Linked DNA regions of Homo sapiens: region 1 is linked to region 2. The links are contacts of gene promoters, found by promoter capture Hi-C in human tissues and cell types (Jung and others, 2019). All regions are on one chromosome and are shown on one strand. The core of a region is centred on a gene start or on the middle of the fragment in contact, and the rest is flanking DNA. Distances in the headings are between cores, read along the strand shown.

Region 1 (6,958 bases), core at 3,046-5,545, 120 kb after region 2:
CCTCATTTAAGACAAACAGATGCTTAGGTAGTCTGGCTTTCAGAATCTTCAGGACCAAGTAGTACACGCTATTTCTTTGGAAGGGGATGGTTATTGAAGATTAGAGACTGAAATGCACTCTAGTAGGCAAAGCTCTCGCTGGAATCGGAAAAGTCAAGTTGGCAGAAGTCTCTCTAAAGTTATTCTATGTCAGGACCACGTTAAGATCTCTCACAGCTTTTAAGAAGCAGATAGTATTGGCACCGGGGGAGAGGAGACCGCCTCCCTAGGGGCTGATACTCCCTGGGAGCCACGTGAAATGGGAACGCACTCAGCAGCATGCTGAACAAGCTCCTTTCTGGGTGAAACTGCTCCTGAGACTGGTCACACTACCGAGGGAACAGAATCACAGCTGGCAGTTGAGGCTTTAACGTATGGGACGCAGAGATGGAAGTAGTTCCTTGAAGGAAGCCAACCCCATGCTTTACAGAGGGCTTAGTTTCTGGCATTTGGAACGCAGTGTATAACAGTTTATAAGCATTACCAATGATCCAAAGGTGGGAATATGTCAAAAGGACACAGGAACCAGCTTGAAGGGAAACTCACTCACCTCACCAAAGTGGGGACAATTTATGCATAAAAAGTGATAGGAAGATATTACAATCCATTGAAAAAATTCACAAGTCTACACTGATTAAATAAACAAGAGAAAAGGAAAGCTCTTCTTTACAGTAGACTACAACTAATACATATAGAAGGAATGATGGATATAAAAATCACCATTGGGCTGCACACGGTCACTCATGCCTGTAGTCCTAGCACTTTGGGAGGCTGAGGCAGGAGGATCGCTTGAGCCTAGAAGTTCAAAACCAACCTGGGCAACATAGTGAGACTCCATCTCTACAAAAAATTTAAAAATTAGCTAGGCACGGTGGCATGTGCCTGTAGTCCCAGATACTAGGGAGGCTGAGGCAGGATTTCTTGAGCCCAGGAGATTAAGGCTGCAGTGAGCTATGATCACACTACTGCGCTCCATCCAGCCTGGGTAACAGAGCAAGACCTTGCCTGTAAAAAGAAAACAACAACAAAAAAACCCCATCACTGAGACAGGTGGGAGTTGTCAGGGAATGCTAGGTCTACTGGAAGGAGGTTTTTTGAGAAACAGGGTATCAGTGAAATACAAGAACACCTCTCCACAAACTAATCAATTGCAAAGGAAAAAAATGGTGAATTCACAAACTAATCAACTGCAAAGCAAAAAATGGTGAATTTTTTTTTTTTTTTTTTTTTTTGAGATGGAGTTTCGTTCTTGTTGCCCAAGCTGGAGTACAATGGCATGATCTCAGCTCACTGCAGCCTTCCGGGTTCGAGCAATTCTCCTGCCTCAGCCTCCCAAGTAGCAGGGATTACAAGCATGCACCACCATGCCTGGCTAATTTTTTTTTTTGTATTTTTAGTAGAGATGGGGTTTCACCATAGTGGCCAGGCTGGTCTTGAACTCCTGATTTCAGGTGATCCACCCGCCATGGCCTCCCAAAGTGCTGGGATTACAGGCATGAGCCACTGCGCCTGGCCCTAAAACTGGTGAATTTAAGGTGGAGAAAACATCTCCAGGGATGGGTTAACGTCATATACCCTGTGATGAAAGGAAAAAAAAAAAAAGGAGACATTGTTGGGACAGTTGGCAAAACCTGAACAGGGTCTGTGGACTGGATGGTAGTACTGAACCCATGTTAATTTCTTGATTTGGCGAGCTGTATGGTGATCATAGAAGCACATCCTTGTTTGGGAGGAATGCATACTGGAGTGTTTAGAGGAGATGAGAAAACCTAACTGCACTCAGCTCTCAAAAGGTTCAGAAAAAGGCTACATCTAATATAGATCAGGAAGGAGAGAGACTGGGTGATGGAACAAATCCATGAAAATGTTAACAACTAGAAAATTTGCATGAAGCAGGTATTGGAACTCTTTTATTGTTCTCGCAACACTTACGTATGTTTGAAATTATTTCAAAATAATTTTTTTAGGATCCAAATATATACCTAGCAAAGCGTATCCAGCTCTTGATCTCAGAGGAAAGAGATCAAGAGATAGGATTTTACTTGACAAGAAAAACCAGCCGGAAAAAAAAAAAATACATCAAATACAGCAATAACAGGATTTGAACAACAACAGTTTCTTCACTGTCTCCACTTTTGCCCTGCACATTACCTTCCATCCCATCAATCTTCCTGTGATGTTTACTATTGCTTGTTCAGAGTCTGGGGAGTTCAAGGCACTGATCTAAGCAAGTAGTTTAGGATCAGACTTAGAATCCAAATCCACAAGTCTAAGCAGTATAGACCAACATGATGCTCCAGTATAGAACAGTCTGATGAAAGTTACCTGTAACCATCAGGTTCATTAAATAAGAAACCACGAAGGCCGGGCGTGATGGCTCATGCCTGTAATCCCAGCACTTTGGGAGGCTGAGGCGGGCGGATCACCTGAGGTCGGGAGTTTGAGACCAGCCTGACCATCATGGAGAAACCCCGTCTCTATTAAAAATACAGAATTAGCTGGGCGTGGTGGCACATGCCTGTAATCCCAGCTACTCGGTAGGCTGAGGCAGAAGAATCGCTTGAACCCGGGAGGTGGAGGCTGCGGTGAGCCAAGATCACGCCATTGTACTCCAGCCTGGGCAACAAGAGTGAAACTCCGTCTCAAAAAAAAAAGAAAGAAAGAAAGAAAGAAACCAACAGAGGAAGCTTGACTTTGATTTTGCACTGCCTGTAGTGGCCCCTTATGTTTATTAGTGGTAGAGACTATATTGCCATTATACACTAACTACTTTTATCCTATACCAACAAACCACTTTTCCAAGTTAAAGCAGCAAAACTTTTCCAATTCTCTCCATGGGACAGAACCAGAAGAGCATGTCAGTTGTTCAATCAGGAGAAAGTGAAAGAGGTTTCCTCAGTGGGGTTCTTATATACTAAAAAATAAGAATGACTTTTCTTTACTAGCTATATTCCCCCACATTCCTCCTTGCACCTAGATATCGCCATAATATTAAACGCTAAGGCTAGAGTATATCATATGGAATATTCCTAAAACGTAAACTCCATACTGGTTCATTCTCACTGTCCCTCTCATTTGAATAGAAAGAGCTTTTATTTAAAATAGTCTTGTAACCTAGCTGCATTTGTGATAGGGCCTTAGTCTTTGCTCTGGCAAGTTTGACTTGATTTAAAAAAAACAAAAACAAAAAAACCCTGGGAAATTCTCTCCCCATTAAATAGACTAGAAAATATTAAAAAAAAGATCTAAACTGAAATTTGTCTGGCATAAATAAGGCACTAAAGCTTTTTTTTTTTTTTTTGAGATGGAGCCTCGCTCTGTCGCCAGGCTGGAGTGTGGTGGCGCGATCTCGACTCACTTCAATCTCTGCCTCCCAGGTTCAGGCGATTCTTCTGCCTCAGCCTCCCAGGCACTAAAGCTCTTAATCTGATGAAACTAAAGTTAGACACTTTGAGGATGAAAGTACTTTTTTAAAATAAGTGGAATTTTTTTAAAAAATCAAAGGCTTTTATAAATATATAACCTAGACATAATTATTTGGGACAATTCTGATGTATCATTAGTTAGACAAGTGAAAAGCAAAACAATCCTCAAGTCCTACTCCCATCATCCTGCCCAGAGCACACCACCTCAGGGAATGGAAGCATGTTATAATAAAGCCCAACTCCAAAGAAAGCGGTGGTCAAAAGGTTCCCACAGCCACGTGGCACACAGCTGGGGAATATATCCAAACTGCTCACACTGCCTAGAGAAGAAAATAGAAAAACACACTGCCTGTGATGGGCACTTCAACCAGAACCCACAGGGGATACTGATGAGTCTCCATGCTCTGACCAACTTTCCCTCCAAGAGTTTTGGTTTGGACTTTGGAGGAACATTACGCATAAGGGAACTTTCTCAGAGAGTCTCATTTATAGCTCAAAGCAAGGAGACACACATCTTAAGCATTTCTACATCTGTTCTCCTCTGGTCATGTAAGTGTCAAGTTCCAGGTTCCATAGGATCACCAAACTCCCTGTGTGACAAAGAACTGAATCAACCTCCAAGCCTGGGAATGGCCTATACTGAGACTGGACATCCTCCCACGGCACTCCAGTCAGAGCTCTGTGAGGTAAAATAGAAAAACTGCACCCCCACGTGGACTCGCCCTCTGTAGTCTTGTTATGAATGACACTACTCAGATTCCCTGCACCATGTAGGAAGCAAACCCCGTCATCCCTAGAGGCTATTTTCCTGTAAGAAGGAGCAAATTAACCTTAGGTTTTACAACCATAACCAAAAAAACCACATCCACCCATAGCTCGTAGTTTTCCTACCGGCTTCTCTGTAACTTCTAAGAAAGACAGAAATGAAAGAAGCTCTAATAGTAATCTTCATAAATGCATTCTGCATTTGAACCACAAAAACGAGATGATATAATTTTTCCATCAAAGAGAAAATAGGCTGATTTTCCTCTACTGTCAGAAAGTGGGCAGAACATTTCAACTCTTATTCTTTTTTTTAATGAGACAGAGTCTCGCTCTGTCACCTTGGCTGGAGTGCAGTGGTGCAATCTCGGCTGGTTGCAAACTTCGCCTCCTGGGTTCAAGAGATCCTCCTGCCTCACCCTCCCAAGTAGCTGGGATTACAGGCGCCTACCACCGCGACCAGATGATTTTTTGTATTTTTAGTAGGGACAAGGTTTCACCATGTTGGCCAGGCTAGTCTTGAACTACTAACCTCAGGTGATCCACCTACCTTGGCCTCCCAAAGTGCTGGGATTATAGGCATGAGCTACCACACCCAGCCAATTTTTTGTATTTTTAATCGAGATGGGGTTTCGCCATGTTGGCCAGGTTGGTCTTGAACTCCTCACCGCAGGTGATCTGCCCACTTCGGCCTCCCAAAGTGCTGGGATTACAGGTGTGAGCCACTGCGTCCGGCCTCAACTCCTATCCTTATCAATGCCATTTAATCTTACAATTTTCCATATGCCCTACACTCCTACCCACTCAAAGACAACTAATGATTAAGTAGGTAACCAATTTGTAGAAAATCCTCTGGGAGAGACATGATGAAACACTAATCCTTTTTTCCTTCATAACATCAATTTGGAATTAATAATCTCAGTTAGTTGGACAGAGTGGTTCACCAATGCGTGTCCTGTGCCTAGTACAGAGTCAGGCATTAAATAAAGGTTTGCTGAGTGAATGAATATTAAGAATTTACTTCCCATATCATGGTGAAGCTCAGGTCTACTGGTATTGCATGCAAGTCATTCTTTGGAACATGAAAATAATTCTTTGGGATACTGGCACAGAATGCAACTGCACCTACTACTTGATAGCACAACAGGGTGACTATAGTCAATAATAATTTAATTTTTTTTTTTTTGAGACAGAGTTTCACTCTTGTTGCCCAGGCTGGAGTGCAATGGTGCAATCTTGGCTCACTGCAACCTCCGCCTCCCAGGTTCAAGCTGTTCTCCTGCCTCAGCCTCCTGAGTAGCTGGGATTACAGGCACGTGCCACCATACCCGGCTAGTTTTGTATTTTCAGTAGAGATGGGGTTTCGCTATGTTGGTCAGGCTGCTCTCGAACTCCTGACCTCATGTTATCCACCCGCCTTGGCCTCCCAAAGTGCTGGGATTACAGGCATGAGCCACCATGATGGCCCAGTTGTATATTTTTAAATAACTTAAGGAAAGTAATTAGATTGTTTGTAACTTAAAGGATAAATGTTTAAGGGGATGGCTACCCCATTCTCCATGATGTGTTTATTTCACATTGCATGCCTGTATCAAAACATCTCAGGTATCCCATAAATATATAAACCTACTATGTACACACAAAATTAAAAACAAAATTTTTTTAATGCAAAAAAAAAAAAAAAAAAAGAATGCAACTGCAGCCTAACTAGTCACCTATGAAATGCATATCATTGTTCTTTTTTAGGGGCCCAGAGAGTAAAATGTGTGTGAATTTACAAAAATCCTTATGTTCTATGGGGCCAAAAAAAACGCCCTTCCAAGGAAGGAATTAAATTGCATTTAATTTCAAAACATCATTCCAATATCCACCAGCTGTGGAAATAATTTAACAGATATTTATTTGCCCATTATGTACAAAGCACTATGGTAGGCACTACTGGGGGTACAAAATGAGTAAAACATACTCTTTACCCTTAGGGGTACACAATCTTGTCAGCAGGCTAAGACAAACATACTCACAGCTATCATACAAAAGAAAAGGCTGGGCGCAGTGGTTCACACCGGTAATGCCAGCACTTTGGGAAGCCAAGACGGGAGGATCACCTGAGGTCAGGAATTCGAGACCAGCCTGACCAACATGGTGAAACCCTGTCTCTACTAAAAATACAAAATTAGCCGGTCGTGGTGGTGCATGCCTGTGATCCCAGCTACTCAGGAAGGCTGAGGCAGGAGAATTGCTTGAACTTGGGAGGCAGAGGTTGCAGTGAGCCAAGATTGCACCACTGCACTCCAGCCTGGGCATCAGGAAAGGAAATGTGGGAAACTCGGGAAGGGGAGAGGGGAAAGGGAGAAGGGGAAGGGAGAGGGGGAAGGGAGAAGGGGAAGGGAAGGGAAGGGGAAGGGGAAGGGGAAGGGGCTTCTTCCCCTACGTGGCCTGAGGTAATCCGTGAAAATGGTTCGCTATTCACTTGACCCAGAGAACCCCACAAAATCATGCAAATCAAGAGGTTCAAATCTTCGTGTTCACTTTAAGAATACTCATGACACTTCTCAGGCCATCAAGGGTATGCATATACGAAAAGCCACGAAGTATCTGAAAGCTACCACTTTACAGAAACAGCATGTACCATTCCAACATTACAATGGTTGCGTTGGTTGGTGTGCCCAGGCCAAGCAGTGGGGCTGGACAAGGTCAGTGGCCCAAAAAGCTTGCTGAATTTTTGCTACACA
Region 2 (7,199 bases), core at 4,614-7,113:
GCGATTCTCCTGCTTCAGCCTCCTGAGTAGCTGGGATTATAGGCACCTGCCACCACAACTGGCTAATTTTTGTATTTTCTAGTAGAGACAGGGTTTCACCATGTTGGCCAAGCTGGTCTCCAACTCCTGACCTCAGGTGATCCACCCACTTCGGCCTCCCAAAGTGCTGGGATTATGGGCATGAGCCACGTGCCCGGCCTATCAAACTTTTATTACAGATGAAAATGTGTGTGGAGATACACTTGCACGACTCTGTGTTTTGAGTCTTTTAGTGCAAAGCAGGTAGGGCTCCATGCTGACTACGCCCCCAGCTTTTTTCAGCGAAGAGGGAGATGGTGAATGGAGGCCTGAATACTCATTAGCTGTGTGCCTGGAAGCCCAGGCTGACAACAAGCCTCCGGAAGGGGCCTGTACGGACACCAGTATGATATCACAAAACGGTCATCTCTTCCACTTTGCCCCCAAAGGGGATGTGGGAACACCAGCCACTCTAAAACCCAAATATTAGTCCAGTCAGCATCCCCTTGACCCTGCAAAGGTAGATTACCTGCACAGACTTCAACAGGTTTTGCTTTACTAACACAACTGAGCATCTTTTGTTCTCTTCTCTGCTCAATCCCTTCACATCCTTGGAGTCAAAACTCAAGAGCCCAATGCATAGAGGGTTATAATGCCAGAACTGTGCAATAGTCCATCCCATGCTTGACTACTGGCTGCAACAGAAGACTGCAAAAGTTACTCAGTCTCTCCATCTGGAAAATGGGACATAGTACCCATCAGTCTTCCTCCCTCCTCAGCAATGTCATGTTGAGTTCATTAAAGTAGGATATTTTATGGTCTTCTAGTGTCAAGACTGCTTGCTTAAAGTACAGCAAGCTATCTCCTGAATGTCTCAGCAAGTTGTCCCGTACTGAATGCTTCATCAATAATATTCCTGAACTCATGTCCCGTACTTCAGTTTACCTCACAGGATCTCACTGGATCCTCACAATCACCTATTTCAAAGATGATGTCAGGTAGCTTGCCCCATTACACCATCAACAGCAGAACAAGGCCCAGAACCCAGGTCTTCTGAAATCTATCCCCTCTGAAGTAAACAGAATGGGGGTAAGGGTACGTGTAAAATGTAAGATCTTTTTTAAAATAAGAGCAACAGTAAAATGACTCCCTATGCCTGGGCCTCAGTCAGTGGTTCTCAACCTTAGCCATATATCAGAACCACCTAACAACCTTAAACAACAAAGATGCTCTGAACTCATGATATACATCTAGGACACTGAGACAGCCTAGGAGCAATGACTCCCCAGTAGCAATGAGCACACCCAACATGCAAACCTTGGTTTCTCAATGCTACTCCCCACACTAAGAGGAACCAGGGTTCCTTGGGGAAAGACCAGATTCAGGTTTGGGGCAAGGAGAGTCCAAATGTGAATCTGAGATACCGTGTTGTACTAGAAGCAAGAAAATGCTCAATGTCAAATAAAACCACAGCAAAAGGGCAAAAGAGCTTGCCTGAGGGGACTCCTACTGGCCAAAATTGGGGACAATTTGAACATCAAGATAATGATCATTTGTACACCAAACCCCCATGACATGCAATTTACCTATGCAACAATCCTGCACATGTACCCCTAAACCTAAAAAGTTAAAAAAAAGATAAAATGATAATGGATTATATATAGCTCACTGAATAAGAAGAATCTATTGAGACCTCAAAAATAAAGAGGGTAAAAAGAGTAAGCTCTTCTTTACAGAGAAATGCAGGCTAATATAGGTAAGATGAACATAAAGAATTGCCAGTTTGCAGTCCCCAACATGTAATGTTCAACAAGGCAAAAACAATGGATGCCAAAATATGTGAAGAGTTTTTGGAGAGCCATATAATCATAAAGTATTACCCCACAGACTATGAATTACAAAGGGGAAAATACACACACACACACACACACACACACACACACACACATTGGTGGTGAGATCTGGCCATCCACCACCTTAACCAAATGATCAAGCTTATTATCAATAGTGGGTCAACCTTGGCTGGGCGCGGTGGCTCACGCTTGTAATCCCAACATTTTGACAGGCCGAGGTGGGCGGATCACCTGAGGTCAAGAGTTTGAGACCAGCCTGGCCAACATGGTGAAACCCCATCTATAGGCGTGGTGGCACATGCCTATAGTCCCAGCTACTCAGGAGGCTGAGGCATCAGAATCACTTGAACCCGGGAGGCAGAGGTTACAGTGAGCCGAGATTGCACCACTGCACTCTAGTCTGGATGATACAGTAAGACTCCATCTCAAAAAACAAAAACATAAACAAAAACATGAGCCTTGTAATGTGGTGCAGTTAAGTACATATCTACATAGGGCTCTTGTCAAAAATGTTTAAGATTCATTCCTCATGAATCTACTCATGAGGAAATGGCAAATACAAATTATGGAATCTTATCTAAGACAACTGGAGTAAATTATTCAACGAAATCAATGTCATGAAAGACAAAGGAATGCAGGAGGTCTGTTGTAAAAGAAGATACTTAAGAGAAACATAACACATGAACTTCTATTTGATCCTGGATCAAAAATGAAATTAAAAAGCTGTTAAGATTTTGGATATTGAGAAGTGAATACAGGCTGAGTATCCCTTATCCAAAATGTTTGGGACCAGACATGTTCCAGATTTCAGACTTTTTCAGATTTTGGCATCTTTGCATTATACTTATAGGTTAAGCATCCCAAATCCAAGAAATCCGAAATCTAAGCTCTTCCAATAAGCATTTCCTTTGAGCACCATGTTGGTACTCAAAAAGTTTCAAGTTTTGGAGCATTACAGATTTCAGGTTTTCATACTTGGGATGCTCAACTTGTATAAACTATATAAGATTAAGAAATTGTTAAATTTTGGCCAGGTCCAGTGGTTCACACCTGTAATCCCAGCACTTTGGGAGGCCGAGGCAGGTGGATCATCTGAGGTCAGGAGTTTGACCAGGCTGGCCAACATGGCGAAACCCCGTCTCTACTAAAAATACAAAAAAATTAGCCAGGCATGGTGGCAGGCACCTGTAATCCCAGCTACTCAGGAGGCTGAGGCAGGAAAATCACTTGAACCTAGGAGGCAGAGGTTACAGTGAGCTGAGATCACACCATTGCACTCCAGCCTGGGCTACAAGAACAAAACTCCGTCTCAAAAAAAAAAAAGAAAAGAAAGAAATTGTTAATTTTTTGTTGTTGTTTTTGAGACAGAGTCTTGCACTGTCGCCCAGGCTGGAGTGCAGTGGCGCAATCTCAGCTCACTGCAAGCTCCGCCTCCTGGGTTCACACTATTCTCCTGCCTCAGCCTCCCGAGTAGCTGGGACTACAGGCGCCCGCTACCACACCAGGCTGATTTTTGGTACTTTCAGTAGAGACGGGGTTTCACCGTGTTAGCCGGGATGGTCTCGATCTCCTGACTTCGTGATCTGCCCGCCTCGTCCTCCCAAAGTGCTGGGATTACAGGCGTGAGCCACCGCGCCTGGCCAGAAATTGTTAATTTTCTTAGTGTGATAAAGATATTGTGGTTACAGAGAACATCCTTATTAGGAGATGCATACATGGTTTAAGAGTTAAGAGTTGCAATGTCTGTGACTAGCTTTCAAATGGTTTAACAAAATCAATCTATATTGAGAAAGATAATTGTGACAAAATGTTAATTCCTGGTGAATTTTGGTAAAGGTTCTATGCATGGTCACCAAACATTTCTTTCAGCTTTTCTATGGGTTTGAAATTTTTACAAGTTAAAAGTAAAATAAATAATAGAGATCCTTTGACCATAATTTAAACTGAATTAGCATTGTCAGGATTAGAGCTCAAGAACCTTTATTTTTCACAAGGTCATCCAGATGATTCTAACACACATCTAGAGAATCGCTGGTCTTTGGTTTCTGCTACCTCCTGTAGTCAGAGAAAAGTGAGAGGAAGAAATGTTGTAATTCTCTCAGTAGAATTAGCTCAGCTGGTGGCCAAGAGTCTTTCCCTGATGGTTCCACAAGCCAATTATCTCAGACACGGTCCGAATGGCCTCGGAGTCTTAAGACTGGATTTCCTATGGAGGAATCAAAGTACTAATCCTCCTTTGGGGGCCTTGGCTGCTGTAAGAAACCAATACTTGACCCTCCCAGGAATAGAAGCTTCAGGGCACTGAAAGAGCTAAAAGGACTGGAGTGGAGGCAAGCCAAGGTGCTGTCTGAATGGTAAGAGGAAACCTACCAGGTGAAGGATCTAGTGTTTTGCCAAGAAATTCAATTTAATACCAAACAGGGGATTTACCTGGGCAGAACAGGCAATTTGTTAATATTTAGTGACTGTTACACACCTGAGTTGGATGTCATTACTAACAACCCCTGCCATAGGCTTATGCACTGCACCCCCTGCCCCCAAAAGCAGACAATTGGTTTAATGTCTATTCTAAGAAACCTGAGGAAAATGAAGCCAGACTGATTATGGGACAATTTAAATAAATACAAGAAACTGAAGAGCAGAAAAAGGTCTCCATACAGCTACTGTGAATTACTTTTATTGAAAAAAAATGTTCACTAAAAAGGCTGAATACATCCCTCTACATGAATACACAGCTCAGAAGAGGGGAAATGGAGGTGGGGAGGCATCCAAGTCATAAAGGGTAGAAAATGAATGCAAGCTTCTTAGAACTCTTCCCAGGAACACAGGCAATGCTTGCAGTTTCCTGGGTACCCAATGGGCAGGGAAGATCAGGAAGAGATCCATGGGACATAAGGAAGTTAGGTTACTGCGCATAGCTCCCAGGAGATTGTCCCCTCCATTTCTCCCACTCATTCTTTTGGCTGTGGGAGTGTTCCCTCTAAGCTGATCCACTACCAGCAGCTGGAACACTCCCCTAAAAAGCTAGCTTGGCTTCCTGGGCAGCCAGTTCTTCAGGAGCAAGGCTGTTAAGTTCTTGAAGCTGTCACTGCTGCAGGCCCCCCCTTAGCGCACAGAGGACAATCCTCACCAACACGCCACCAACCACTCCAATGGCAATTCCTATTCCCAAGGCTGACGCCACCTTCTTTTTCCACTTTGGGTGGTGAGGCTTGGAGTAGCTGTCCAGATTAACTTCCAATCCCTCATCTATTAACTTCTGATCCTCAGTAAGTGACTGATGGAAATTCAGATTCACCAAGTTAGGAGGAAGGACCCTCAACCCAAAATAGAGCCTCTTGACGAGTCTCAAGTTTTTTACCAGCTGCACATCACAGCGATATGTCCCAGAGTCATACTCCTGAGCATATTTAAACTTCACAAAGTGGGAGTTGGCTTGAAAGGGTTTGAAGACCTCATCGTCAGTGGAGATGACACCTCGAGCAAGTCTCCAGGTGAACCGGAAAGCTTCCTGTCCAAACTCCAAGATGTCTGAACTCAGACAGCTAAGCTCAAATTCCTTGCCAATGAGAATGGTGAAATGGAGCATCCCACAGATCCAGTTGGTCAGACATTCTAAGCGCCGAGTCTGACATTTCCTTCTCACTCCATCAGGGCCCACCTCACAGACGGTCTCCTCCTTATAGCCAAGGCCACAGGTGACAGTACAGGTTGTGGCATTGATGATAACTTTCCCCACAGCTTCTTGCAGCTTCTCAGGGATGGCCAGTGTTTTAGGTGTAGTCACCACCAAAGGCAGGTAGAAGGCCAACCCCAGGCTCCCAAGGACAAAACTAGTGGCTAAAACCTTCATGTCTCGGTAGGCGTTTTGCCACCCTCAGCCAGCACCCACAAGGTATTCCAGCTGAATCCTCTATAAATCATAACTTGATTCCTTTGACATGAGATATCCTTCAAAGTCAAAAGATATGATGCATGTATTGTCAATAAAACAACACAACTTAATAAATAAAAGTCCAGTCCTTATAAACAGGTGAGGCCACAAGGCAGGAAAAAAATCACAATGGTGTTGCTTTACTAACTATCGTTGTTAATAAAATAACCACCTTACCTACTAGTCTTCACGCTTTTTTTTTTTTTTTTTTTTTTTGAGGCAGGGCCTCACTGTCAACCCAGGCTGGAGTGCAGTAACATGATCACAGCTCACTGCAGCCTCAACCTCCTAGGCTCAAGTGATCCTGCCACCTCAGCCTCCTAGGTAGCTGGGACTACAGGTGCAGGCTATCACACCTGGCTAATTTTTCTATTTTTTGTAGATACGGGGTTTCACCATGTTGTCGAGGCTTGTCTCCAACTCCTGGGTTCAAGCAATTCACCCACCTCAGCCCCCCAAAGTGCTGGGATTACAGGCATGAGCCACCGCGCTGGCCGTTTTCGTGTTCTCTTAATGACTTTAAATCCACCTCTTGGGAAGACAAAGAAGAAAAGACTTCAGAAACTGAAGTAAATTTCCAGATTACCTCAAATGCATAGTGAAGTTACACTCTTCCTCACCCTTCCCCTTCCCCTCTATAAACTAGGATCTAAATTAAGGGTTTCAAAAGCCCCAGTTAAATGTCACCAAATAAAACAAATACTAAAGTCTAAAAAAAGGAAGATTAACTTGAATTATTTTAATGTTCCTAAACTTCCTATAAAAAGGATTAAGAACTCTGGACTAGGAGGCAAGTAACTTACCCTTCCTGAATTTCTGTTTCCTCCTTTGTAACTTAAGACCTCCTTGCCTATCTGAGGAAGGTCACTTAGAGCACTGAATGATATACTGTATGTGAGAACACTTTGTAAAGTGTGAAACACTGTTCAATGTGTAAGGAATTTTAAATAGAAATGGAAATTCATAAAGACAAGGGCCAAGATGACCTTTTCAAATCAGAATGTTTAAGGTTGTGTTAAAGGCAGCTCCTCTCCCCCTTTTAGGCACTCTTCCTTCCCAAGGATACTGAAGATATATTTTGAGTGAGAGGATGCATGATGCTCCCTGACTCTTGGCCTACTCCCTTTATCCTACAGAATAGAGCTCATTATTCACGTAGGTCAAGGTTGCTATGAAACAGCTATGATGTCAAAGATGGAGTTCTCAATCACATAAGATTAATAAGTAGACCCTCAAATTTGACATTAAAATCAAAGACTTACATAGACTTTGTGAAACATCTTATCTTTAGGAGACAACGAGCATTTAATAAATTTTAAAGCTGCTTCATTCAAAAAAAAAAAAAGGCTAATAAGAATTCAACCGTACTTACTTAGACTTGAAGAAAGGTCCTT

What was found. The method cuts DNA at HindIII sites, captures the fragments that hold promoters and counts their contacts. A contact is called where the count stands out against the background at its distance.
Region 1: a contact is called between a fragment that was not itself captured here and the fragment with the promoter of TMEM81 in region 2, in 2 of the 25 tissues and cell types used here (dorsolateral prefrontal cortex and mesenchymal stem cells).

The regions. Positions count from the first base shown.
Region 1 is chr1:205,195,511-205,202,468 of GRCh38, forward strand. The region is part of intron 1 of DSTYK (dual serine/threonine and tyrosine protein kinase); the gene reads right to left. It also overlaps the pseudogene RPL17P8. Among named protein-coding and RNA genes, the nearest start is that of DSTYK, 13 kb to the right of the region's middle. The HindIII fragment of the contact is 5,997 bases long and covers 1,298-6,958 here.
Region 2 is chr1:205,078,597-205,085,795 of GRCh38, forward strand. It overlaps TMEM81 (transmembrane protein 81), which reads right to left and starts at 5,864. Exons shown (of 1, transcript NM_203376.2): 1 at 4,533-5,864. The coding sequence starts at 5,724. The coding sequence ends at 4,957. The HindIII fragment of the contact is 3,641 bases long and covers 5,025-7,199 here.